7 separate regions of the Homo sapiens genome follow, and all the other regions are linked to region 1. Evidence: promoter capture Hi-C in 16 types of primary human blood cells and fetal thymus (Javierre and others, 2016). All regions are on one chromosome and are shown on one strand. Each heading gives the region's core, a stretch centred on a gene start or on the middle of the fragment in contact. The rest is flanking DNA. Distances are from core to core; before and after follow the strand shown.

Region 1 (3,302 bases), core at 310-2,809:
GTTTAGCACGATGTACTTGTACTTTTTCCAGTTGCAGGCCTTGGGGTCAGGGCTGGCTGGACTGGGGGGGCCTTGACTGCAGCTTCGAGATTCAGTAGGTGGGTCTGGGTGTCCTTCGGAGCGCCTGGGACTACCTGGTGGAGGGGCCGTTGGGGGTGTTGGGGGTTCTGCTTCCAGGGGGCGCAGGGAGATGCCCAGAGGTTCATAGCTGGGGAAAGTGTGATGAACGTTAGTGCCATTTCCTAAACTCTGCCTTTGCCCTTAACACCTCACCCACAGAGAACGCCGAGCCAGGGTCCCTCACCTGGCCTGGATGAAGCGGTGGCATGCCTGGACCACGTGCTCCATCTGCAAATAGGTGGCGGCCGCTAGGACTGCTGGTGCAGTGGCTGGAGAGAGGCGCAGGCGCGAAGTGTACATGAAGTCCAATAGAGGGGCGAAGCCTCTCGCTTCGGGACCCCCGGGCAGAGAGAGCACGTCCACCCCGACTCCCGCACGGCCCCGGAAAATTGAATAGAAGAAGCCACTAGAGAGAGAGCAGATAAGTCCTTTGGGGGCTGGGGAACCAAGGGAGACATGCGCAGCTTCAGGAAGCCCCGCCCCCTGAAAAAGTCCCGCCTCCTCACTATCACCCCGCCCCCAATTCTGGGACGCTCCGCCTCCTGCTTCTGAAAGACTTGGCTTCGGATTCCCTCTCAACGGCCCTGTGGTCCCACCCCTTTCCCATTTGGCCCCGCCCCAGGCCCCACCCCTCGAACCTGCAGGCGATGAGAACTGCCTTGTGTGCTCTGAGGGGTTGCCCGCCAACCAGCAGCGTGACGTCAGTGAGGATCCCGCGCAGGCGCAGCTCGTTGAGGTTGCCCAGCACGTCGGAGGAGTGGCGAGTGAACTCGCGGACGTAGCCCAGCGCTCCCTCCGGGGCGGCGGGGGAACCCATAGCGACACAGGCCTGTAGAGGCCGTGGAAAGTGCTCTGGATCCAGGCAGTCCTAAGACGCCTTCCCTCCTCTGTTTGCCTTTTCCTTCCGAGGTGCAACTAGAGCCAGGACTTCCAGCCCCTAGCCCCGGCACACGCAGCCTCCCTCCTAATTCTTCTTGTTCATTCTGCCCTCTACGACACCCTCGCTCCCTTGCCTCTTCCAGATCCCACAGCGCTTGGAGCCAGTTGAAGGTTCCACACCGCGGCGTCGTTGGCGAGCGTGGGGAATCCCGCGCCCATCGCCCTGGGTTCGACCCCCAGTGCCCCTCCAGCACCGCCACTCCCCTCTGCGCGCCTGTGTCTCAGGTGTCCAACCCTGCCTCGAGATCTCACGGCCTGCCGTCCACACACCTCCAAATCCCAGCCGAGGCTCCCTTCCCCGAACTACGGAATTCTGCGACTCCTATCTAGTCCCCAATCCCTAGTTTAGCCCAATTTCTGGGACTCAGGCTCGCTGATGGCAAGCTCCACACAAGCTCCTACCCTCTTGGGGGACCCAGGAGTCTGGCTCCCTCAGTCTCTTGTTCTTACCCCCGTCCTGCAGGGGCCGCGGCTTCTCTTCTTAAGGGGGGCGGGGTCTCTCTCCCCTCTTGGCCTCGGCTCCTTTATCTGGCCGGGATGTCGGGGGCGGGGGTGGAGGTGGGGTGAACGCCTGGGTCTGTATCCTTCCTTCCTCCCTCGCTCTCCAGATGGCGAGTCCAGGGCGGGGTCTCCGTCTCGAGGGCGGGACCTCAGAAACAAGGGGTGGTCGTAACGTAGGGGGTCTTGGGTCACTGCAAGTGGACACGAGGACGGGGATATTGGAATTGGGGAGGAGGTTAGGGATATCGAGGTTGGCAATACGGGAGTCTGAGTCGTCGGAAGGCCTGGGCCAGTGAAAATTGGTGTGTTGGCTTTTGGGAGGGTTTGCCAGGAGCCAACCTTTGCTGCAGGACAAAGTGCATACGGCAACCCCCTCTCCCTCTCTTGTACTGTGTTAAGGGAGAAAAGGGGGAGCCCAACGAGACAGCAGGTTTGGGCAGACGACAGTGGGCTCCCGTAGGGTCTCAGACGGGGAGGGTGTGGTGTGAATGACAGGCTACTCTACCCGGGCCTACAAAAAGGGGGGCTCTGGCCGGGCGGGGTACGGAGAGGGCGGATATGATTTCTAGTTGGTTTCCTTCCATTGTCCTGCGACCGGACGGCTCCGCCAGCTGCTTCCCCTCGAGGAGGTGGGGAAAGCCCCGAGGTGGGGGTGGAGGGGCGAGAGACGCTCGGGAGACCTAGGCGTCCGGCCTCTCTCGCTCCCGACTCTCTTCTGGGTCCTTGTAGGGATCCAGAGAGATGGACTCCCGCCCAAAGCCCGCTTGCTTTCCCCCAATCCCAGCTCACGAGGGCCTCGGGCACCCGCCCGTCGGCTACGCTTGGAGGCTGGCGGGACGCCGGGGTCCAGCGCGGCAAGTAGGCAAGGCTCGGCAATGTGCGGCTCCTTCCACGAGGGGGCGGCCGAGCACTGGCCTCGCCTCGCCCCTCGTCTCCACCCGGCCTGGGGTGCGCTCAGACCCGGGCGCAGGATCCATTTGGTCTGGGCGGCTGAAACCTTTAGCCTCCTCCCCTTTGCGCGGGTTTATTTTGCACCTCTGTCTCCTAGGAGGGGACTAGGGCTGGGCGGAGGGAGCTAGAGTTAGGAGACCGAGGGGACTTTCCCCTCAGGCTGGGGTTCCTACCCGAGGTGAGAAATCGCGGGCTTTAGGAGCCAGGGGAATGGGTGGGACAAGAAGCGGGACCTGAGCCTGGGAACTCCGGGTTTTCTTTTCGAATTAAGCTAGACACTGCTACCCAGATGTCTTTGGAGGTGACTTTTAATTGAACATTAAAATTGGGTGGGGTAAACGAGAAGGGAAAACAAGGAGGAGGGAGAGAGGGCAGGAGGGGGCTTAACCACCCTAATTTGAAGTCCCTGATCTGAGAGATGGGCATGGATCACACCCTCATATTTTGTTTCGGGAGACATTGCGGGCAGGCAAGGCAAAGCTCATTTGGAGAAGGGGTGCTAGAGCTGAATCCAGCTGCAAGGCAGAAGCTCCCCGGATTTGGGCTGGGGAGAGTGTACAGTTGGCCAGGAATGGCCGACCATGGTCCACGGGGCTGGATATCAGGCCCGGGGCCCTCCCCTTCAGACCGGAGTGTGTCTTTATTTGAATGCATGAAAGAACAGCTGAGAAACCGGGAACTGGGAAATTCAGGACGATGAGGTGGCTTTGACATGTGAGGGTTATTTAGGTCTCTGCCCAGCTTGGAGATGAGAATTAGACTAGGGGCTCTCCCTTTGGCATCAGGATGGA
Region 2 (3,302 bases), core at 430-2,929, 460 kb before region 1:
TATCCAGGCTGGAGTGCAATGGTGTGATCTCATCTCACTGCAACCTCCACCTCCCAGATTCAAGCGATTCTCCTGCCTCAGCCTCCCAAGTAGCTGGGATTACAAGAATGTGCCACTACACCTGGCTAATTTTTTTTTTTTTTTTTGGGACGGAGTTTTGCTCTTCTTGCCCAGGCTGGAGTGCAGTGGTGCGTGCAATCTCGGCTCACCGCAACCTCCACCTCCTGGGTTCAAGCAATTCTCCTACCTCATCCTCCCAAGTACCTGGGATTACAGGCATGTGCCACCACACCCCGCTAATTTTTTATTTTTCGTAGAGATGGGGTTTCTCCATGTTGGCCATGCTGGTCTTGAACTCCTTACCTCAAGTGATCCACCCCACCACCCCCCGCCTCCCAAAGTGGTGGAATTACAGGCATGAGCCACCGTGCCCAGCCCAACTCTGCTTCTTTTCTATTTATGTCTCCATGACTCCAAAGTTTGTCTGATTCTTTTATTCTTTTTATGGCTAGCTCTGTGGCTTTACATTAATTTGTTTATTTATATCTTGCATGGTTTCAGAGAGGTTTTTTTGTTGTTGTTTTTTTTTTGAGACGGAGTCTGTCTCTGTCGCCCAGGCTGGAGTGCAGTGGCGAGATCTCGGCTCACTGCAAGCTCCGCCTCCCAGGTTCACGCCATTCTCCTGCCTCAGCCTCCCGAGTAGCTGGGACCACAGGCGCCCGCCACCACGCCCGGCTAATTTTTTTGTATTTTTAGTAGAGACAGGGTTTCACCGTGTTAGCCAGGATGGTCTCGATCTCCTGACCTCGTGATCCGCCCACCTCGGCCTCCCAAAGTGCTGGGATTACAGGCGTGAGCCACCGCGCCCAGCCTCAGAGAGGTTTTAAGGCAAGGAGCTGTGAACCCTGGCTCCTCCATCTCCTTAGTTTTTAATTTTCCAGCACCAGGGAGGAGTTCTTGGGATTGTCCCTGTGGAGTTTCAGGAATGTGTTTTTTCTGTGTGTGCTTCCACCTGGTGTTTTGTTGATGCTGTCCCCAGAGGCCGACACCAAGGCCTCTGCATTTATGTTCAAGTATACAGATGTGGATCTATCTGCTGGTGGGGACAAAGTACCCAGCCAGCTTCATGTGTTCATTTGCGCTGGTGGTCGTTCGTGTGTGCCCCGTATGCAGGGCCAGGGCCTTCTTTTTCCGCGGCCTGCTGAGCTTTCCTGCGCATTCCTGGAGAGGGTGTGTGTGTGTGTCCAGGGCTGGCCCTCTTTGAGTGTGCCGACCCTGGGTCTGTGAGTCCCACCGGGCCTGATTATGAGTCTGCCATGTCATGTCTGCACCCTGAGAGCCTGTGTGTTATGCTTTCAGGCAGTGTGCACCGCTGAGTGAAGGGCGTGCAGGAGGAAGGGCGGAGGGAGCCCTTTCCCTGGGGGTCGGTGGTCTTGCGCCCCTGCCGGGATGCTGCAGCCCGGCCCGCGCCCCGCTCGGTGTCCACCCGCCCGGTGGCCCAGCGCGGCGCAGTGTCATGCCGCGGGGGTCAGTCCTGGGGAAGGCCGTCGGGCGCTCGGAGCTTTGTGTCGGTGTCGGCTGCGCTGCGCCGGCCTCCTCTCGGCGGCGGCGGCGGCGGCGCTGGGGGGGGACTGTTTCCGGGGGTGGGGGTGGGGGTAGGACCGGGGCGGGGGGAGCCGATGATGTCAGCGGCGGCGGCGGCGGCGGCAGCGGGGCCGGGCCGGGGCCAGGCGCTGGGGGGGCCAGGGCCGGAGCTGGAGCCGGAGCCGGAGCTGGAGGCGGGCAAAACCGGAGCGGCCGGGGGCGGCCACGGTGATGAGCCGGGCCTGGCGGACGCGGCGCCATCGCAGTCAGGTGGGCCCTGGGGCGAACTGGGCAGGGCCAGGGCGGACCGGAGCCAACTGCCAGGCCCCCTCTCCGCTGCCCGGCGCTGCGGGAGCCCCGACCGCGCCCCGCGCCCAGACCGCTCTCCTTTGGGGTTGACCTGGGGGCGCAGGGGTCGGGGGCTGAGCCTGGCCCCGCCCCCGGGCGCGCACGACGCTGGGGGGCGACTAAGGGGGCCCTGGTATGGCGTCCGAGCGAGGGGCGGCCGTGGGACGCGATCGCCTGGGGCCGTGGAAGGGGAGGTGCTCACTCCCTCTTTGAAGGGTTAATTCTGCAGCCTAATGGCCCCCTCCCCCCGTGGGGCAGATTGGGGGTGGGGTGGGGCGGGTGTGAGCCCGGGCAAGCGCTGCAAGCTGCTGGGAGGGTGATGGCGTAGGAGCCAGGCAGAGAGGGGGAGGGGTGGGCCGCCGAGCGCCCCAGAGTTGGGGTGTGCGGGGTGCGCAGGGCGAGCTGGGGCCCCGGAACCGCCGCGCCGTCGGGGCAGGGTTGTGGCTGTGAGTCTTGGAGATCGTGTGTCTTGTGCTGTGTGGTGGGGCAAGGTAAACCTCTCCTGGGCACCACCGTTTGCTGGCAGCCAGGGGTCTGGGTAGGGCCCTCCCTGGGCCATGGAGATAGAAAGCCAGGAAGGGTGTCCAGTGTTGTGGGGCAGAGTTACAAGACGAGCCCTGTGGCTTTGGGTGACAGATGGGTATTCTGAGCAGGGCACAGCATGCTGGGTGCAGAGTTTGTTCGATGTGGGGCTGTATGTTTTCTACAGCATGTGTTTTCTCGCATGTGTGTCTTGTGCTGCACCTATGACCTGTTTATGAACTGTTTTCTGCAGAGCTGGCATGCTGTATGTGTTGCGGAGGGTGCCAGGATGCAGTGTATGTGCCCTTTTGGAGGGGGCGGTTGTGGGCCTTTGAGTCAGAAGGCGTCACGTCTGGGTCCCATTTCTGTGGCCCTGCTGAGGTGTGGTCCAGTGGTGAAGAGGGCGATGGATGGGTTTGCGTGTCTGTGATGAGCGCGTTGCATGGGGGCTGCGCGTCTAGAACTCAGATCCCAAAGATCATGAGAGGAGCGAGGAACCCCGGGGTATGTCTCAGGGGCCTGTGGGTCAGTTGGCACTGGTGTGAGGGGCTCGAGGTGGAATGCGCCAGTTGTGTTTATGGGATCATGGGCAGCCAAGCGAGGGGAAGGTTGTGTGTTTGCAACATTCTCCACAGGATTCTTTTGTGACGTTGTTTGTAGGAGCCTGTCTGGGCTGCTGAGCTGGGAGGCAAACTGGTCAGAAAACACATGTGGGGAGGGAGGTGGCGTGACAAGGGCAGTGTGGGCCTCAGACCCAAGAGGCCAGCCGCAAGCAGGCTGTGTGTGCGTGCCTGCCGTCTGTGTGCTTAAGTGGCGGTGGGGCTGCGGAGGGGATTTGGTATGAGGAA
Region 3 (3,302 bases), core at 305-2,804, 420 kb after region 1:
TAGAGAGAGCAGACTTTATTTGCACTGAAGACTTATTTTTTGTCTGTGCCTATTGGTGTTTCTGGGTTGCCGGCTTCTCCAGTACCTACTCTGGGAAATATAAGGCAAAGAGAAATCCCAAAGAACTCACTGCTCTGTCATTCTTTTGGTCCCAGTGTCCCTAGGTGATGTGCCTTCTCTACTTCTCTCCGAGTCCTCTTATGTTTGCATATATTTAATGTCCAGGATTCTTAGTTGTAATTAACAGGAAGAAGAGTGGAAAGTACATTTTTCAGCCTCTTCAGAAGCAAAAATCTGAGCATTTCTGCTCATTGGCTTGTTTCCAATGAGAAATCAGAATTGCTTTTTATCCTTCTCTAGAGGCTCACAGACTCTGCTTTCTCCCCAGGGTATCTCAGATTCATAATGATAGGACTTATTGTGGGTGTGTTTTCATTCATCAGTAGACCTTTTAAGCCTGGCAATTTATTTCCTTTAATTCTGAGAAGTTTTCGTGCTTTATTTTGTACTTTTTTTTTCTTGTCTCTGTTTTCTCTATTCTCTGTTTCTGAAACTCCTGTTCTTTGATGTTGGACTTCCTTGATTGGTCCTCTGATTTTCTTATCTGTTTTTTCCTATTTTCTTTTTTCCCTCTTCTACCTCTACCCCTACCCTCCCCCAGTAGGAGATTTCCTCCAACTTTAACATTTAACCTATTGAGTTTGTCATTTCTGCCAGTGTTTAAATTTTAAAATTTAAAAATGTTGAGAGCTCTATTATATTCTCCAAATATCTCTTACTTAGTGGTCGCCTGTCCTTCTTTCATGGATTCAGTGCTGTTTTCTTTCTGAATATATTAACACATTTCCTCTGCCTTTTGACCTACATAATCTTTTTTTTCCTTCCTCAGATACCTAGTAATCTTGGCTATCTTCTCATGTTTAAACGTAGGGGGAGTGATTGCCGATCAAAAACTCAGAGTATGTGGGTTGGAATTAGTATTTTAGTTTTCTAAATAATTGTTTCTATCGTGGTATAATTTACATATAGTAAAATGCAAAGAACTTAAAGGTACAGTTCAATGAATTTTGACAAATGCATATCCCTGGGTAACCAAAACGCTAATCAAGATAGATAATTTGTCCTTCAACCTAGAAAGTACCCACATGTCTTTTTTGGTCGTTCTCTACTCCACACCCCCATCCCTCACGGAGGCAGTTGCTTTGATTTCTTTTACTGTAAGTAGCTTTGCCTGTTCAGACTTTATATGAATAGAATCATCAAGATCTACCCCATTGTGTCTGGCTTCTTTTGCTCAAGAAAATGTTTACGATTCATCCACATTGTGTGTGTATCAGCATAGTTCATCCATTTTAGTGCAGAGTAGTATTCCACTGTGGGAATATACCACATTCTGTTTGTTCATTCTCTTGTGAATTGACATTTGGGCTTTCCCATTTATAGTTAGTATGAATCAAGCTGTTACATACATTCTTGCACAAGGCTTTTTGTAGAAATATGCTTTCATTTCTCTTGGGTAAATGCCTAGGAGTATAATTTCTGGGTAATAGGATAGGCAGTTGTTTGATTTTATTAAATGAGCCATATGCATTATCCAGAGTAGTAGCTTTTTATACTCCCATCAGCAGTGCATGTGAGTTCGTTTCTATTGGTTTCACATCCTTGCTAACAATTGAGCTTGTCAGTCTTTTAGTGATTCTGGTGAGAATGTGGTGGTATCTCTTTGTGGTATTAATTTGTGTTTCCTTGAAGGCGAATGATGTTGGGCACCTTTTCTAGTGCTGATTATGAAGTGTGTGTTCAAGTCTTTTGCCTATTAGAATTTTTTTTAAGTGTTGATTTGAGTTCTTTGTATTTTCTGGATATGAGCCCCTTGCCAGATATGTGTGCAGCAGATATTTTCTCGCAATACTATGGCTCGCCCATAGATCTTTGTAATGGTGTCTTTTGATGACTAAAAGTGTTAAATTCTGATTAAGACCAGTTTATCAATTTTTCTTTTCTGGTTAGTCATTTTTGGTGAACTAGCTAAGAAATCATTGCCTATGTTAGTGTCTCAAGGATTTTCTCTTATGTTTTCCTTTAAGTATTTTATAGTTTTACCATTTATTCTTGTGTCTGTTATCCATTTAGAATTAATTTTTGTGTATGAGATGAAATACTGGTCGAAATTCATTTTCTTTAATGGATATCTGGCTATTCCAACACCATCTGATGAAAGTAACACCTGGACTGTTTGTTAAGGACACTTATGTTGGTCTTTAGGTCTTTCCTTTGGCCTGGGTCAGACTGCCCAGAGAAGTTTTCTGATCTTTGGCCCAGAGAGTAAGATCAGGATGTTGCTTCCTAGGAGCTGAGTTGGGGAAGAGGGCTGTGAGTCTAATAACATAGCATTTAGCCTGCATACGTGACCGCTGCCTCTTTTCAGTATGGTACCTACAGCCTCAACTGTGATTGGGTGCCCCTAGTCAAGAGACCCTCACACAGAGAATGAGCCATCAGACTTCTCCTAGAGTTGGAAAGAGGCGGCTGTATAGTTGTGTGAAGTAGGGAAAGGGATCTAGGAGTCTTAATTTCTCAAACATCATTTGGCTGTTGTCGTCAGTTTTTAAACCACCCCCTCCCAGCTTAGCCCAGGCCTAGATGTACCTGGTACTACCAGTCATGTGCCTAAGTCAGCAGTACAAATTGTGTGGGTTCTAGTTTTTCCCACTGCTGGCCCTAGAAGTCAACTTCCTGTCTACGGCCATACCACCCTGAATGTGCCCGATCTCGTCTGATCTCCGAAGCTAAGCAGGGTTGGGCCTGGTTAGTACTTGGATGGGAGAAGTCAGCTTTCTCAGATCAGCTAAGTTAGTTATCACTTTTGTCCTTTGTTTTCCAGCACCATTTTTTTCTTCCTTATCCTTGTGGGTGTAAAGCTAACTCTATGGTTGTTTTAGTGGGATTTGGAGAGGGAACAAAATTAGTTTCTTTTGTTTAGTTGATTACCCTCTTTAGCTGTTAATGACAACCGTTATTTTTTTTGAAGTGTACTCAGTGCGTTACACACTTCAGATGTTACCTAAATCCCTGTGCATAAAGTAAGGCCTAGGAACAGCACTGTCACATCACCTAGGAGCTTGTTGGAAATGCAGACTCTCAGGCCTTACTCAGACCAACTGAATTGGAATCTACATTTTCACAAGATCCCCAGGAGATTGATATGGCCATGAACGGTTAGAGAAGCTCGTGGTCATTTTATTTCCCTTCTCCTGGAGTGGCAAATAAATATGCAAAATAGGATATTTTATTGCCTTTGA
Region 4 (3,302 bases), core at 543-3,042, 420 kb before region 1:
AGCCTGTAGTCAGTCCACTCCTAGTGAAGCAGAGGCTGAGGGGCTGCCCCGGGTTGGAGGCCGGGAGGGACTTGGGATTTCCAAAGGAAGCCCAGGAAGGGAGTGCAAGGAAGGGGAGCAGGACAGGCATAAACTGTGGGTCAAGGGGCCGTGGTTCTGGCTCTGGCTCCGCCTTCACTCGCTGGGATCCACATCAGCTAATTTCCCTCCCCCGCACCGGGTTTCAATATTTTACTCTGTAAAAATGAGGAGGCTGCAGTAGCTAGCCTCTAAAACGGTTTTCAAACTGCAGTTCGCAATCCTTTAGTGGATGGGGAATGAAATTAGCGGCCCCAAACCAGTGTTTCAAAAATTAGAATGGGCCAGGTGCAGTGGCTCACGGCTGTAATCTCAGCACTTGTGGAGGTTCCCCCCGAGGCTGGTGGATGGCTCGAGCCCCCGCATTCAAGAACAGCCTGTGCAACATAGTGAGACCGCATCACACACACACACACACACACACACACACACACACACACACACACAGACACACACACACACACACACACAAAATTGGAATTAAAAATGCATGGGGTGTAACTCCTGTAGTAAAGTTAAGTGTTGTTTCTTCGAGCTTTTGCTTCAGTTATAAACGTGTTATCTAAAGTCATGATGTAAAAAATATTCTTACTGGGCTGGATATTCAAGGAAATTGTCAAGGCAGAGGGAAGCCCTTTCCCACCCCGTGGGGTCTCCATACCAGGTCTAAGTACACCTTTGTGCTCATCTCTTCATCCTTCTCGTTCTAGAAGGGAAAAATTTAAGGCGTAAAGGTGAAGTAGGGTGGAGAGAAATGAGGGGGCTCGGGGGGCCAACCTCTCTCCTGGGAACGCCGCCCCCTTTTTCTGAGCCCCATCCTCTCGGGTCCAAGTCCACCTCCCAGAAGCGGCGTTAGTTTAAGACCTGCCTCTATCTCAGAAACACCTCTTCCTGCCGTCTACACTCCCAGCCTATCAACCTACCAGACCCGCCCCTGCCTAGCCCTCCGCCTAGCTCTGTCCCCGGCCCTGCCTTCAGCTCATAATCCACCCAGCCCCGAACCTCCACCCGCTGCCATTTATTGACCCCTGAGCACCAAGCTCCGCCCCACCCTGGGCACTCAGGACTCATGTGGCCCTACGTCGAGGTCCGTCCCCCAGCCCCTGCCTCGTCCCCAGCCCCACTTTAAGGTCCGATCACAGGTCCGTCCTTCACCCTACCCAGTTCTACTCCAGGCCCGTCCACCACCCACGGCCAGAGCTTGTCCATTGGTCTGATTTCGATCCAATCTTCACCAAAGGCTGGTCCATCTCAGCCTGGTCTCGTCCCAGGCCCCGCCCCCAGCCTGTCCCTGGTCCGGCCTTGCCTAAAGCCACGCCCCCGGCCGGTCGGCTGGCCTGACCTCCACCCCCCGCGCGCCCTCACCAGGCTGATGAGTTGCGCCAGGATGAGACCAACGCTGACCCTGACACGGTCTCCCACCTCCCGCGCTGGCCGCACGGAGCTATCATAGCCAGAGAAAAGTTTCTCCCGGAGTCGACCCTCCGCCTCCGAGCCGCGGACGCCTGGGGGAGGAGAGAATAAGTGCAGCCCTGGTGCCTGGCCACGACCGCTGGCCCCGTCACTGCCCCTTCGGGGCCTACACTTACCTGGGGCGAGCGGCGCCCCCAGCGCCCCCAGCAGCATCAGCAGAGCCCCTGGGGTCATAGCCTGGCGGCTCGCTCAGTGACTTCGCTCAGAGAGCCGCTGGGACCGCCAGCACAGGGGAAGTGACGAGGAGCCCGGGAATGTGCACCTGTTGCTGGAGGACAGCCGCCAGCCCACCCGCCCCGCCCCCGGGACTTGATCCTGCCTCGAGCAACTGCCAAGCCCGCCACCGACAGATGACAGACAGCACTTCAGTTGTATAAATCGTCTTTAATTGAGAAAGCTGGAGTGGAGACCCGATCCCCTGGGAGCAGTGCCAGGAGTTGGGTGGAGACTGAGTGGGGTTTGTGTGGGTGAGGGGGCATCTACTCCTCTTGCAACAAGCCAGAAGTAGAACAGCCTAAGGAAAAGTGACCTGCCTTGGAGCCTTAGTCCCTCCCTTAGGGCCCCCTCAGCCTACCCTATCCAAGTCTGAGGCTATGGAAGTCTCCCTCCTAGTTCACTAGCAGGTTCCCCATCTTTTCCAGGCTGCCCCTAGCACTCCACGTTTTTCTGAAAAAATCTAGACAGGCCCTTTTTGGGTACCTAAAACCCAGCTGAGGTTGTGAGCTGTAAGGTAAAGCAAGTTCTATCCAATTAGAAGCTGTTGGGGCGTATGAGGTCTGGAGTGCAAGAGGCCTTCACCCTTCTTGGCCTGACCTGTAGGGGAGAAGGGTGAGACTTATTGCTGAATTGGGGTCTCCTCACTGGGAGGGTCAAGGCTGTATCCATTTGTCCTTTTTATTAAGGACATATTACTCTAAGGACCTCAGCTTTAAAGGGGACCTGGAAGGAATTCCTGCTGAGGTAGCTAAGTATTCATGTCCACCCAACACAGATGCAGGTTCAGTCATGCCATAATTTTGACCCCTCCCCCATCCCAGCTTCCCTACTATGAGCCAGGGATCCTTCCAAAATTCCTCTGCCCTTCTCCAGACTCTGTCTCCCTGGCACGACCTCAGCTGGGTTGAAGGAGCTAGAAACTGCATGTAAAAATAAGCTTAGCATTCTATATGGAAGAATCATATTTTTAGAGAATTATCTAGGAAAAACAAGAAATGGTTCTTGATTCATCCAGAAGTGTTTTTATGAATCATAGCTGGGTCTTTTCCAGAACTCATCCGTAATAGGTATCACTCAAGAAGGCGGGAGGGTGGGGCTAGAACTTACTTAGAACAATAATATGGCTATACAGGCCCCAGCTCCATCCTGGGTAAAAGGGCTGAGAGTCATGATCTATGTCCTAGAGCTAGGATTCAGGGGGAAGTACGGCTCCATAAAGCTCTAGAATTGGGTGTCTCTGGGATAAGAAGGTTAAACCCGTGGTCATCTGAGACTGGTTCCGGTTCAGGCCAAAGCCAACAGCTAGACAAGGCCCAAATCTAGCCTCTTTCTACTTGGAAACCAGGGGTCCATCTGAGTCAATGACAGAGGCCTGACAGATCCAGAGAAAAGGCTGGCAGCATGCCTGGGTTCCAGCACAGAGCCCTAGTGCAGAAGTGGCCCTGGCGAGGGTGTCCAGTGTTCCAGAATGTGTCCAGACCAAGGTAGAAGGTAGAGTAGGGAAAGAAGGACACATGAATCCTGAGCTCCAGTGA
Region 5 (3,302 bases), core at 358-2,857, 390 kb after region 1:
ATGGACCCAAAAAATTCCCTGTTATCCAATAACCAGTCTTTATTCAGCTTTACTCAGTTGTCTCAAAAATGTCTTTTCCCCTAGCATTATATTATGAAAATCTTTAAAAATACAGCAAAGTTGAATTTTACAATGAACACCTCACCTAGATTCCATTATATTTCACTTACTTGTTTCGTTGCATGTCTGTCACTCAGTCATCCCTCTAGAGATCCATCCATCAATCCATCTTATTTTTTGACACATTTCAAAGTCAATTGCAGGCATGAGTATCCAAACTACTTCCATATGCATGTTGTACATTAGAATTCACTCTGTTTAGGGCCAGATGCGGTGGCTCACGCCTGTAATCCCAGCACTTTGGGAGGTCCAGGCGGGCGGATCACCAGAGGTCAGGAGTTCGAGACCAGCCTGACTAACATAGTGAAACCCCCATCTCTACTAAAAATACAAAAATTAGCTGGGCGTGGTGGTGCACACCTATAATCCCAGCTACTTCGGAGGCTGGGGCAGGAGAATCGCTTGAACCTGGGAGGCAGAGGTTGCAGTGAGCAGAGATTGTGCCACTGCACTCCACCCTGGGTGACAGAGCGAGACTCCATCTCAAAAAAGAAAAAAAAAAAAAAAAAAGAATTCACCCTGTTTACTGATTTTTTTCTTTCAATATACATTTTACGTCAGAAATGGTGAAAGATGTACACATTGCAATGTGTACATCTTTTCACATTTGCTGAGTTTTGACAAATGCATACATATGTGTAACCCATACCTCTATCAAGATACAGATCATTTCTGTTATCCTAGAAAGTTCTCTTGATGCCCCTTGCTAGATAACCCCCACTCCTCCCCTCCAGAGGCAGCCACTATTCTTATTTTTTCCACCACAGATTAGTTTTCCCTGATCTAGAACCTTATATAAATGGGATTTTATATTTTTTTGGTGTTAAGACATTTCACTAGCTGTAAAGTTTTTGAGATCCATCCTTGTCATTGCATGTATCAGTAGTTTATTCCTTTTTAATCCTTTTTTCTCATTCCATACTATGAGTATACCACAGTTTGTTTATCCGTTCTCCAATTAATGGACACCTGGGCTGCTTCCAATTTGGGATTATTATAAATAAAGCTGCTATGAACATTCTTATACAGATCTTTTTATGAACATGTTTTCATTTCTTTTGGGTAAATATCCAACAGTGAAATTGCTGAGTCATGGGGTAGGTGTATATTTAGTTTTATAACAAACCATTGGACCTTTTTACATAGTGGTGGTACCGTTTTACATTCCTGCTGACAATGTATGAGAGCTCCAGTTGCTCCACATCTTTGCCAACACTTGTTGTTGTCTCTTTAGCCATTCTGGTGGGTGTTTAATAATATCTTATCGTGGTGTACAAAGAAATTTAAAAAAATTTTTTGACATAATTTCAGACTGACAGAAAAGTTGCAAGAATAGTCCACAGAATTCCTGGATACTCTTCTCCCAGATTCCTCAAATGCTAACATTTTGCTACGTATTCCCTCCTTCTCTCTCTCACTATCTCTATACACACACAAATTATTTTCTAAACCATTTAAGAGTAAATTGCAGACACAGTGCCCTTTTACCTCTAAGTATTTTTTTCCTGAAAATAAAGAATTCTATTATATAACCATAGTACAATGATCAGAATCAGAAATTAACATTAAATCGATACCATCATGTAATCTGCAGACCTTACTGAGATTTTGTTAGTTGTCCCAATAGTGTCCTTTATAGCAAAAGAAAATCCAAGATCATAAGGTGCATTACATTGTCATGCCTCTGTAGTCTCCTTTAATCTGATTTCTGAGTCTGTTTTTAGGTTTTGTGACATTGATTTTTTTTAAGAATATAGGCCAGTTATTTGTGGATTTTCTCTCAATTTAGATTTGCCTGATGTCTTCTCACAGTTACATTCAGGTAATGCACTTTTGGCAGGAGAACCACTGAATGATACTGAGTGCTTCTCAGGACACCCTATCAGCAAGTACATGCTGCCAATTTAGTCCCAGCACTAGCAGTGTTGACTTTCACCATTTGATTAAGGTGGTATCTGCCTGGTTTTTTCATTGTAAAGTTACTCCTTTGCTTTTTGTAATTATTTGTCTTGGAGACTATGTTAATGTCTTTTTAACACCTCAAACTTTCACCAACTACTTTTAGCATTTTTGCCTGAATCAGTTTTTTATTATGGTGGTTGGCAAATGGGGATTTCTAATTTTACCCTTCCTTCTACATTTACTTGTTGCCTTACTCCTTGCAATCTGGCTCTTTCCCACTGCTCCAGGAAACCCCTTCTTTTCCTAGTACTTACTTATTTATTTCAGCACAGACTCATTATTATTTTTATTCTCATTATTTATTTTGATGTGCAGATATTTATTTTGATGTTCAAATGGTCTTTGATTTAGCCAGTGAGAGCCACTTCTAGTTGGCCCCAGTGTCTCTTTGACATGATCTCATCAGTCTTTGACCACTTTATGGTGTAAAAAGACACTCCAAGGCTGGGCGTTGTGGCTCATGCCTGTAATCCCAGCACTTTGGGAGGCCAAGGCAGGAGGATCACTTGAGGTCAGGAGTTCAAGACCAGCCTGGCCAACATGGTGAAACCCCATGTTGCTAAAACCCCATCTCTGCTAAAAAATACAAAAAAATTAGCTGAGCATGATGGTGCACACCTATAATCTCAGCTACTTGGGAGGCCGAGGCAGTAGAATCACTTGAACCCAGGAGGCGGAGGTTGCAGTGAGCCAAGATTGTGCCACTGCACTCCAGCCTGGGTGACTCCGTCTCATAAATAAATAAATAAATAAATAAAAGATACTCCAGGCTCAACTTGTCTTTTCTTTGTCCTGGCCCTGGAATTAACCATTTATCCAAGGAGACTTTGATTCTTCAGTGGAGAATGAAATTTAAAAAATCACTATCTGGGGCTGGATGTGCTCCTTGATACTATCATGTCATTGTTTTAGGCCCTCTCAGAGGACAGAACTAGGAAATAGATGTATACTTGTGTGCATATACATACATGTACACACATTCATAAATGCACACCCGTACTCACATGTCTGTAGCTACACTTTCTCATCTCCTTCCTGTTTCTTTCTTTCTCTTCCCTTCCTCCTTCTCTTGCTGTCTATGTATCTTTCTGTGTCTGTCTGCCTATATGTCTGTATTAAAACTCACAAGTTCACACAGGTATCTCCAATTCAAATCCAACACTACATATTTCCAACTCCCTTGTCCCAGAGCATGAAAGCTGGCTATCATTATCCACAAT
Region 6 (3,302 bases), core at 353-2,852, 330 kb before region 1:
GGTTTTAGGGTCTGGAGACTGTCTTTGGAGCTGGGACTAAGGGGCTGACTGGTTCCCCTCCAAGGGATGTGGAAGTTGTGAGTGCATACCCCTTAGAGCTGGAGGCTGGGAGGTTTTCAGCGTCTTCACAAGCCACTTTTTGCTTGGAGGTGGTGGGACCTGAGGGAAGACGAGGGTGGGAAGCCTACGGGAGGGGCCTGGGAGGGACAGAGGGAGGGAGGATGGGTGGTGGAAGGCACTGGGCGGGGTAGGATTCCTGTCTTTATCCCAAAACTCACTCCACCAGGAGGCTCAGAACACCCAGAAGCAGGAAAGCTCCGAAGATGGAGAGGAGCAGAATCTTGGCTTCCCAAAGATCCTGACTTCCTGCAGGGAACCCAGGAGGCAGTGAATGATTCTGGGACCCACACGCACCGACTTGGGAGCCCAAGGGCTCAGGGATCTGGGCAAGGTGGGGCGGGGCCAAGATGGGCGTGAGGACCTGGGAAGCAGCGCTTTCGGGGCCAGCAGGACACCTCCGTCCCCTTGCAGGTGGAGCAGTTGTACAGCGTGGTGCTGCCCCCTGCAGGAGACAGCAGAGGCAACGCTGGGGAGGGGAGGCCGGGCCTCCACCCTGCCTGGTACCCAGCTTCCTCCTGCAGCTGCCAGGCCCTCCTCTGACACCCTGCAGGCCCCAGGTCCTTGCTACCCCTTTCCTTTCCTACTCACGGCAGGCGGGGGGACAGAGAGCTGAAATGAAAGACAAGGAAGGGGTGGGGGTGTGAATGGATGAGCTGCTCACCACACATTCCTTTGGTTAAGACCCTAGGCTCCCCTTGAGGCCCATCCCGCATCGGTACCTTCCCTGGTGTACTCAGGGAGCTTGGTCTTTCGAAGCCAACTCCAATATGAAGGGAGTGAGGAGACAGCCTCTTTGATTTCTGGGGAGGCAGACAGCAGCTCCGTTTCCCTGGGCCTCGACGGGGCCAGTTCCCCCTCTCTTCACGCAGCCCCTCCCTGATCAGCCCTCCTGTCTCTACCCCTCCACCCTTCCCTGCCCACCCCAACCCCTGTCACCCGTCCCTCTCCTTGGTATCCTCCCAAGCCCCTAGGTCACTCTTTCCCCTTGACCTCACCCATGACCCTCAGGACTCTGTGAGTCTTCTCTGTGACTTTGTTCATGGACACCTCATCTGTGGAGATGGGCAAGGACCAGCGATTCCCTCATCAGCCCAGGTTCTGGGGTCTCTCCTGACTTTCCCAGATATGGAGCTCTCTCAGAGGGAAAGGCCAGCATGTCCAGAAAGGGCCACAGATGGAGGGCACAGCTGGAAGGTCACATGCCACCCTCTGGGGGTAGGGGGGTGAGTGCTTGCTGGGCCCATCCCTGGATGTCTGGTCCTACCTAAGGCAAAGGCCGAGAAGTCTGGGGAGGCCCCACATTCCTTCTGCCTGGCCTCCATCTGGCTGCAGAGCCGAGCCAGGCGGCCTGACAAGTCGTGGGCTGGGAGGCGACAGAAGACACAAGCCTGGGCGGCTGCCAGGAAAACCCCGCCTAGTGCCAGCCTCCACATGAGGACCACTGGGGGATGGGGCGGCGCTGCCCCAGCTGAGCCGAGGAATGCTCTGCAGCCCTGGCTCCAGCCCTTGCCTGGAGGTTCTAGAATGTTCCAGAACAATGAACAATGGCACTGCCCATCCTCAGCTGGGGTAAAGCTGGGGCTCAAGGAACTGGGGTCCAGAAGGCATCTCCAGCAGGCGATGGGCAGAGAAAGCAGGGCTTCTGTTGTGAGGGGACAGCACCCCCAACCTGGCCCTCAACAGCCTTCACAAGTTTGTGGTTCCAAAAGCAGTTTTATTTTTCTTCTTGTAAATCATGACCAGTGAGAAATAATGTGTGCCCCACCCCCCACCAGTGAAGAAGCTGTGCGTGAGTATCCCACCCGCTCTGGGACCCAGAAATCCCATCCCTTCCCATCTCCTCCCCCACTGTCCCAAACTCTTCGTCTCCTCTCTCTGCCCTGGGCGGCCTTGGGCCTTCCCCAGCTATCTCCTAGCAACAGGTCCATGGTTGCCTCAGCAACCAAGAGTTCCATACAGGCCTCAGAGGCCCAGCTAAGCCCAGTGACTTCTCTTACCTCTCACCAGGAAGATCCCAGTGACTCAAACCCCAACAGGCCCCTCCTGGCTACGTGGTGATGCATATACATGCGTGCACATAAACACACACACACACACACACACACACACCCTGTGATTAAACTACTAATTGTCAACCACCTCACAGGTATACCACAGACACACCCTGTGCCAGAAGAGTCGCTAGGCAACCCCAAACAGGCCTGGACATGCGGACATCACAGACACTGTAGTCAGCAACACAGATATGAACCAGGATGCCAGGGACCTATACATCAGTCAGCCACACGGGCTGATATGCACGCACACATGAAGAAAGGCCAGGACCCACAGATACTACCCTCTTCCCCCTGGCCAGCCCTGCCATCAGTATGGGATTCTTCCAGATGAGGGATGCTCCAGCCCCATTGCCATGGGGACTGTCCTAGCTCCCATACATCAACCTAGGGTGGGTTGTGGCCTTTCTGCCTCCCTCAGTAGATGGCTTGGAACATAGCAAAGAACTCCTCTTCCGATGTTCCAGAGTGTTCTGGCCTCTCATTGGTCAGGCCAGGCCAGGCCACCCAGCTTCAGGAGTAGAAGCCATGGTCCAAGAGACCGCATTGGGAAAATGCAAAGTCCTCCCTTTTCCCCAGACCTCAATATCCTTCCAGGGTTTTGCTAGGTCTAGTCTGGGTAAAGAGATGTTCCCCCCTTTTCCAAGCCCTTAAACACTGAGCTCCAAATCAAGGAGAGACTGGAGGTGCTCAGCCTTAGGCAAGAACAAGCTGAGAGAACCTTCCCTACCCCTCCCAGGGTCAGCACAGGTTGAGACCTTCTGGACCACTTGTGAGTCCTTGGTGGGCTCAGGTTTGGGAATTCCTGCCCACATCTGAGCTCCAGTCAGGTGCAGGAGAGTCCCGACTCTCATAGCTCCTGAAGCAGAGCTGGAAAGAGGCTTCAGGGGTGCTAGTACCCCATTCTCTCTCCTCCCCACAGTCAAACTGAGAACAGCATCCTCAGTGCCGGACAAAGCGCAGAGACCTGGAGTTGAGCAGGTCTTCGGGGTCGGGGAAGACAGAGTCTAGTCGGAAGCCGTGCTCGAGAGCCACCCGCAGCACCTCCTCCAGGAAGCTTGGGGTGCCCACCACCTCCCGCCGCTCTCCTGGCCCCCCAGTCCACAGCGGCTGCAGCCCCAGTCTCCC
Region 7 (3,302 bases), core at 803-3,302, 260 kb before region 1:
CCAGGACATTGTTGACCAGCATGGCCCTTTTCCTGGCAGGCAGACAGAGTGAGGCTGTGAGGGTGAGGGCACCCAGCAGTGGCTCCCTTCCTGTTTCCCCCACCCCTGCCCTCCAGCTGCGAACCTTCCAAGCCACTGAGAGATGATACCAATGAGGAAGGAGGAAATCATGCCGCCCACGGAAAAGATGGCCACGGAGAGGGCCCAGAGGGTGGTGAGGGTGCCTGGAGGGATGGAGCTGGGTCCCTCAGGCCCCTGCCTCCCCAGCCACGTCTCATTGTAGCTCTGTTCAATCACCTGGGGGACAGCAGAGGACAGATTTCCTGCAGACCGTCCCCTTTCCACCACCCCCGAGACACCTGTCCTCCTCGTTTGGGTACCCCCACCCTGCCAGCTGCAGGCCCTCACCTTCTGAGGGGCATTGATGACCCCAATGTTGTACCCAAACTGCAGGGAGCCAAGCACCGCAGAGAACACAGCAAGGACCAGGGTCCCAGTCACTCGCTGCTGAGGGGGTTCCCCATCCTGAACAGGCAGACACAAAGACACAGCATGTCACATGGAACCATGATTTTTTTCCTTCCGCTAGGGGCCCGGGCCCAGCTGGAGCCTGAAGATACTGGGCTCCACCCAACATGTTGGGTGAGGGAAACTGGGCCATATTAGGAATTGCACAAAGATCTCAATGTAAACAGGAGCTGAACTGCAACCTGGGCATAAAGGAGAAACTGGATGTTTGGGTCCATAAGGCAGAGAAATGTTTGAGAACTTGTCTCAAAATTCTTCTGTGACCTTGAGACAGGCTTGGCCTTAAGAGCTCAGATTTGTGTGACCTTGGCCAAGTCACTTCCCTGCCCCGAACCTGAGTGTCCTCTGTGAGATGGGGGTGATGTTGCCTGCCTTGCCTACCTATCTGTGAGAGTGTTGTGAAAATCAACATCACATGTTAACAATATCCTTGACAGTGCTGGTTTCATAAATTAACACGTGCATTATTATCATCAGCCACTGTCCTCTTCCCTCCCCTCTGGGGGTTCTGTCAGCCAGCTCCAGGAGGCCCCCAACAGGACCAAGAAGTGCTGTTCCAGAAAGGACATCCCGGTCATCTAGGGGTGGCCTTCTCTATCTACGTCGTGGCCTGCCCTCCCCCTCTAACCTCCGTGCAGGGAGGGCCGTCCAGGGGTTCTGCCTGGGAGAGCCATGCCCAGGGGAGGAGGGCAGGAAGGTAGTGTGAGGGGCGGTGGCAGTGGTGGCCGCTCGCTGGCGGCACAGACTGTCTCCAAGCGGAAACCTGAGCTGGAGGAGGGGGGGCTGACAGTCCCCTCTGCCCCTCCACCAACCATGGGGCCAAGGGAAAGTTCAGCGTCCTGGAGGGCGGCCAGGAGTGGGGGTGGGGGCCCACGGAGAGCCTCCGGTCCTCGAAACACTGCCCGTGAGCGAAGACGGACGGACAGCTCCCGGAGGGCAAGACCCGCCTGGATCTGCTTTCCCGAGTCGGATCGAGGGCAGGGTGTCCCCGATTCCGGAGCGCCGCGCCGCCTACTAGGCAAGGGGGTGAACCCTGGCTCGCAGAATCCACTTGCTGCCTGTGCCCCGAAAGGCCCTCCAGACCCACTCTGCCTTTTGGTAGGATTGGAATCTCACAGTCACGGGTTGTCCAGGCCGGGTATAAATAGCCAGCCCCCTACCTTCACCCCCTGCGCCTGCGCAGGAACCACCCCCAGCTGACCCCAACCGCGACCCCAGCCCAAGAAAAGCGGGACCCGTGCCCCCCCGCCCCGCCCCCTCATGATGAATCCTACTTCGGAGCCTATCTGTTGGAAGCCCGACGGCATCTCGTCTTAGAAGAGCTGGACGCGCAGGGGCGGCGAAGATGAAAGAACCGATCCTGGAGTCTCTGACTCCGGCCTGGAGCGCAGAACCTGCGGAGGCCGCGGGGGTCCCGGAGTGACGTGCGAGGGCGGGCCCGATGGGACCCACAGCCACAAGCCAAGGACCCGGAGAGCAGTGGGGCTCCCGCGGATCTGGTGGAGCGGGGCTGGGGGAAAAGACGCGAGAAGCCCCCGCCACCTCGCTCCTGCCCCCGCGGGCCACGCCCTTCACAGCACCCATTGGCCAGGAGCCCGCACACCCCAGAAGGCCACGCCCCCTCCGCCTGGGGTTTAGAGTTTGGCTGGAGTTGGTGGGGCGGGCCAATGAGGCCACGCCCCTCCGCGTGGCTGGCGAGACACGCCTCTCGGGTTCCCGCCAGCCTCCGACTGGGAAGTTTTGAGAAAAGAGTCCCTGGAACAAAAGGCCCCGCCCACCCACGTGTTAGGACTCCGCCCACCAGCTAGGATCCCGGGCTGCAGAAGCATCTTAAACTCTGCGGGTCTGGACAGTGGGGTCTGAGAGGAGAGGACGGGCCAGGTGTACTTGCCCCGGGGAAACTCCAGCGGCCTGAGACGGCTCGCGAGCCGGCGCGCGGGTTGGGAGAGGAGCAATGCCCCAAAGTAACCCGGGGCTGCTATTTTTAGCTCCCACGTTGGGAGCCTCCAAATGTCAGGTCCCGGGCGTCCCGGCCTGTCCCAGGCGGGGGCGGAGAGACAGGGAGATGACGCCTTAAAGAGTCCGCGACATGCTTCCCACGCGAGTGTGGCCCTGGGGGCCAGGAAATTCCGTTCCCACAACGGGTCTGGTGGCCGGGCTGCTTGGTCCTGTCTTTCAGCGCCTCCCTGCTCCGGGCACTGTCTATCCCGCCCTTCCCCTACACACATTCCCCAGGTTGGTTCCTGGAGCCGGTCCGAGGGACAAGTGGTCACAACCGACCACACCACCAGCCCTGAGGTCTCTGAGCCTCTGAGGTCTCTGAGCATATGCTGGCCGCGTGAACGACACGCTCTCTGGAGGCTGCTCCGGGTTTGGATCCTCGGCCAAATTCTGCCAGGCAGAAAGTGCGCGACCTAGGGTCGGCGTGTGGGGAGAGAGAAGCCGAAATACCCAGAGCGTGGAGAGTGTCTGGCTCAGAAAACGGGCTTCGGAAGCGCAGGGTTGTGCTGCCACCTGGAGGGCGAGCGAGGAGCCGCAGTGGATTGCACTTGGAATCTCAACCCACTATTTCTCGCCTTTCCGCCACCATAGGGCTTCAGTGACATCTGACCCAGGCCCTTCTCTGGAGCTGCAGATCCAGGTGTTCGTTACCGCCCGGATGTGGCAGCTCTAGTGATCAGCATGTCCAAACCTGCTCCTCCTCCTAACTTCCTTATTTCAATGAATTACCCGCCCAGTCACCCCTATGGTAGAAGTCAGGCTCGATTCCTCCT

The links. The method cuts DNA at HindIII sites, captures the fragments that hold promoters and counts their contacts. A CHiCAGO score of 5 or more calls a contact.
Region 2: the fragment with the promoter of ZBTB4 here is called in contact with the fragment with the promoter of BCL6B in region 1 in 8 of 17 cell types (naive B cells, M0 macrophages, monocytes and 5 more); the score reaches 9.3 in naive B cells.
Region 3: a fragment that was not itself captured here is called in contact with the fragment with the promoter of BCL6B in region 1 in 1 of 17 cell types (neutrophils); the score reaches 9.3 in neutrophils.
Region 4: the fragment with the promoter of CHRNB1 here is called in contact with the fragment with the promoter of BCL6B in region 1 in 2 of 17 cell types (monocytes and M1 macrophages); the score reaches 5.8 in monocytes.
Region 5: a contact is called between a fragment that was not itself captured here and the fragment with the promoter of BCL6B in region 1, in 1 of 17 cell types (neutrophils). The highest score is 5.5, in neutrophils.
Region 6: a contact is called between the fragment with the promoter of TMEM95 here and the fragment with the promoter of BCL6B in region 1, in 1 of 17 cell types (monocytes). The highest score is 6.2, in monocytes.
Region 7: the fragment with the promoter of SLC2A4 here is called in contact with the fragment with the promoter of BCL6B in region 1 in 6 of 17 cell types (monocytes, M0 macrophages, naive B cells and 3 more); the score reaches 8.3 in monocytes.

The regions. Positions count from the first base shown.
Region 1 is chr17:7,021,307-7,024,608 of GRCh38, reverse strand. It overlaps BCL6B (BCL6B transcription repressor), which reads right to left and starts at 1,559. Exons shown (of 9, transcript NM_181844.4): 1 at 1,510-1,559; 2 at 759-949; 3 at 305-526; 4 at 1-208. The coding sequence starts at 937. RefSeq lists a silencer at 2,466-2,605. The HindIII fragment of the contact is 4,378 bases long and covers 1-3,302 here.
Region 2 is chr17:7,478,008-7,481,309 of GRCh38, reverse strand. It overlaps ZBTB4 (zinc finger and BTB domain containing 4), which reads left to right and starts at 1,679. Exons shown (of 4, transcript NM_001128833.2): 1 at 1,679-1,854. RefSeq lists silencers at 1,323-1,582, 1,603-2,062, 2,323-2,372. The HindIII fragment of the contact is 9,560 bases long and covers 1-3,302 here.
Region 3 is chr17:6,600,488-6,603,789 of GRCh38, reverse strand. All of the region lies in intron 12 of KIAA0753, which reads left to right. It also overlaps the pseudogene RNA5SP435. Among named protein-coding and RNA genes, the nearest start is that of KIAA0753, 39 kb to the left of the region's middle. The HindIII fragment of the contact is 7,378 bases long and covers 1-3,302 here.
Region 4 is chr17:7,443,551-7,446,852 of GRCh38, reverse strand. It overlaps CHRNB1 (cholinergic receptor nicotinic beta 1 subunit), which reads right to left and starts at 1,792. Exons shown (of 11, transcript NM_000747.3): 1 at 1,668-1,792; 2 at 1,444-1,583; 3 at 740-784; 4 at 1-20. The coding sequence starts at 1,725. FGF11 (fibroblast growth factor 11) reads right to left here. Exons shown (of 5, transcript NM_004112.4): 5 at 1,916-3,302. RefSeq lists a silencer at 1,671-1,720. The HindIII fragment of the contact is 9,289 bases long and covers 1-2,706 here.
Region 5 is chr17:6,631,424-6,634,725 of GRCh38, reverse strand. The region is part of intron 2 of KIAA0753; the gene reads left to right. Among named protein-coding and RNA genes, the nearest start is that of KIAA0753, 7.6 kb to the left of the region's middle. The HindIII fragment of the contact is 6,054 bases long and covers 1-3,302 here.
Region 6 is chr17:7,353,456-7,356,757 of GRCh38, reverse strand. It overlaps TMEM95 (transmembrane protein 95), which reads right to left and starts at 1,602. Exons shown (of 7, transcript NM_001320436.2): 1 at 1,385-1,602; 2 at 1,116-1,172; 3 at 840-920; 4 at 709-729; 5 at 482-562; 6 at 279-366; 7 at 1-159. The coding sequence starts at 1,553. The coding sequence ends at 126. It overlaps KCTD11 (potassium channel tetramerization domain containing 11), which reads right to left. Exons shown (of 1, transcript NM_001363642.1): 1 at 1,814-3,302. The coding sequence ends at 3,117. RefSeq lists enhancers at 1,008-1,534, 1,535-2,061. The HindIII fragment of the contact is 23,288 bases long and covers 1-3,233 here.
Region 7 is chr17:7,280,468-7,283,769 of GRCh38, reverse strand. It overlaps SLC2A4 (solute carrier family 2 member 4), which reads right to left and starts at 2,052. Exons shown (of 11, transcript NM_001042.3): 1 at 1,803-2,052; 2 at 409-525; 3 at 125-297; 4 at 1-32. The coding sequence starts at 1,835. RefSeq lists an enhancer at 819-1,806 and a silencer at 1,939-2,088. The HindIII fragment of the contact is 20,977 bases long and covers 1-3,302 here.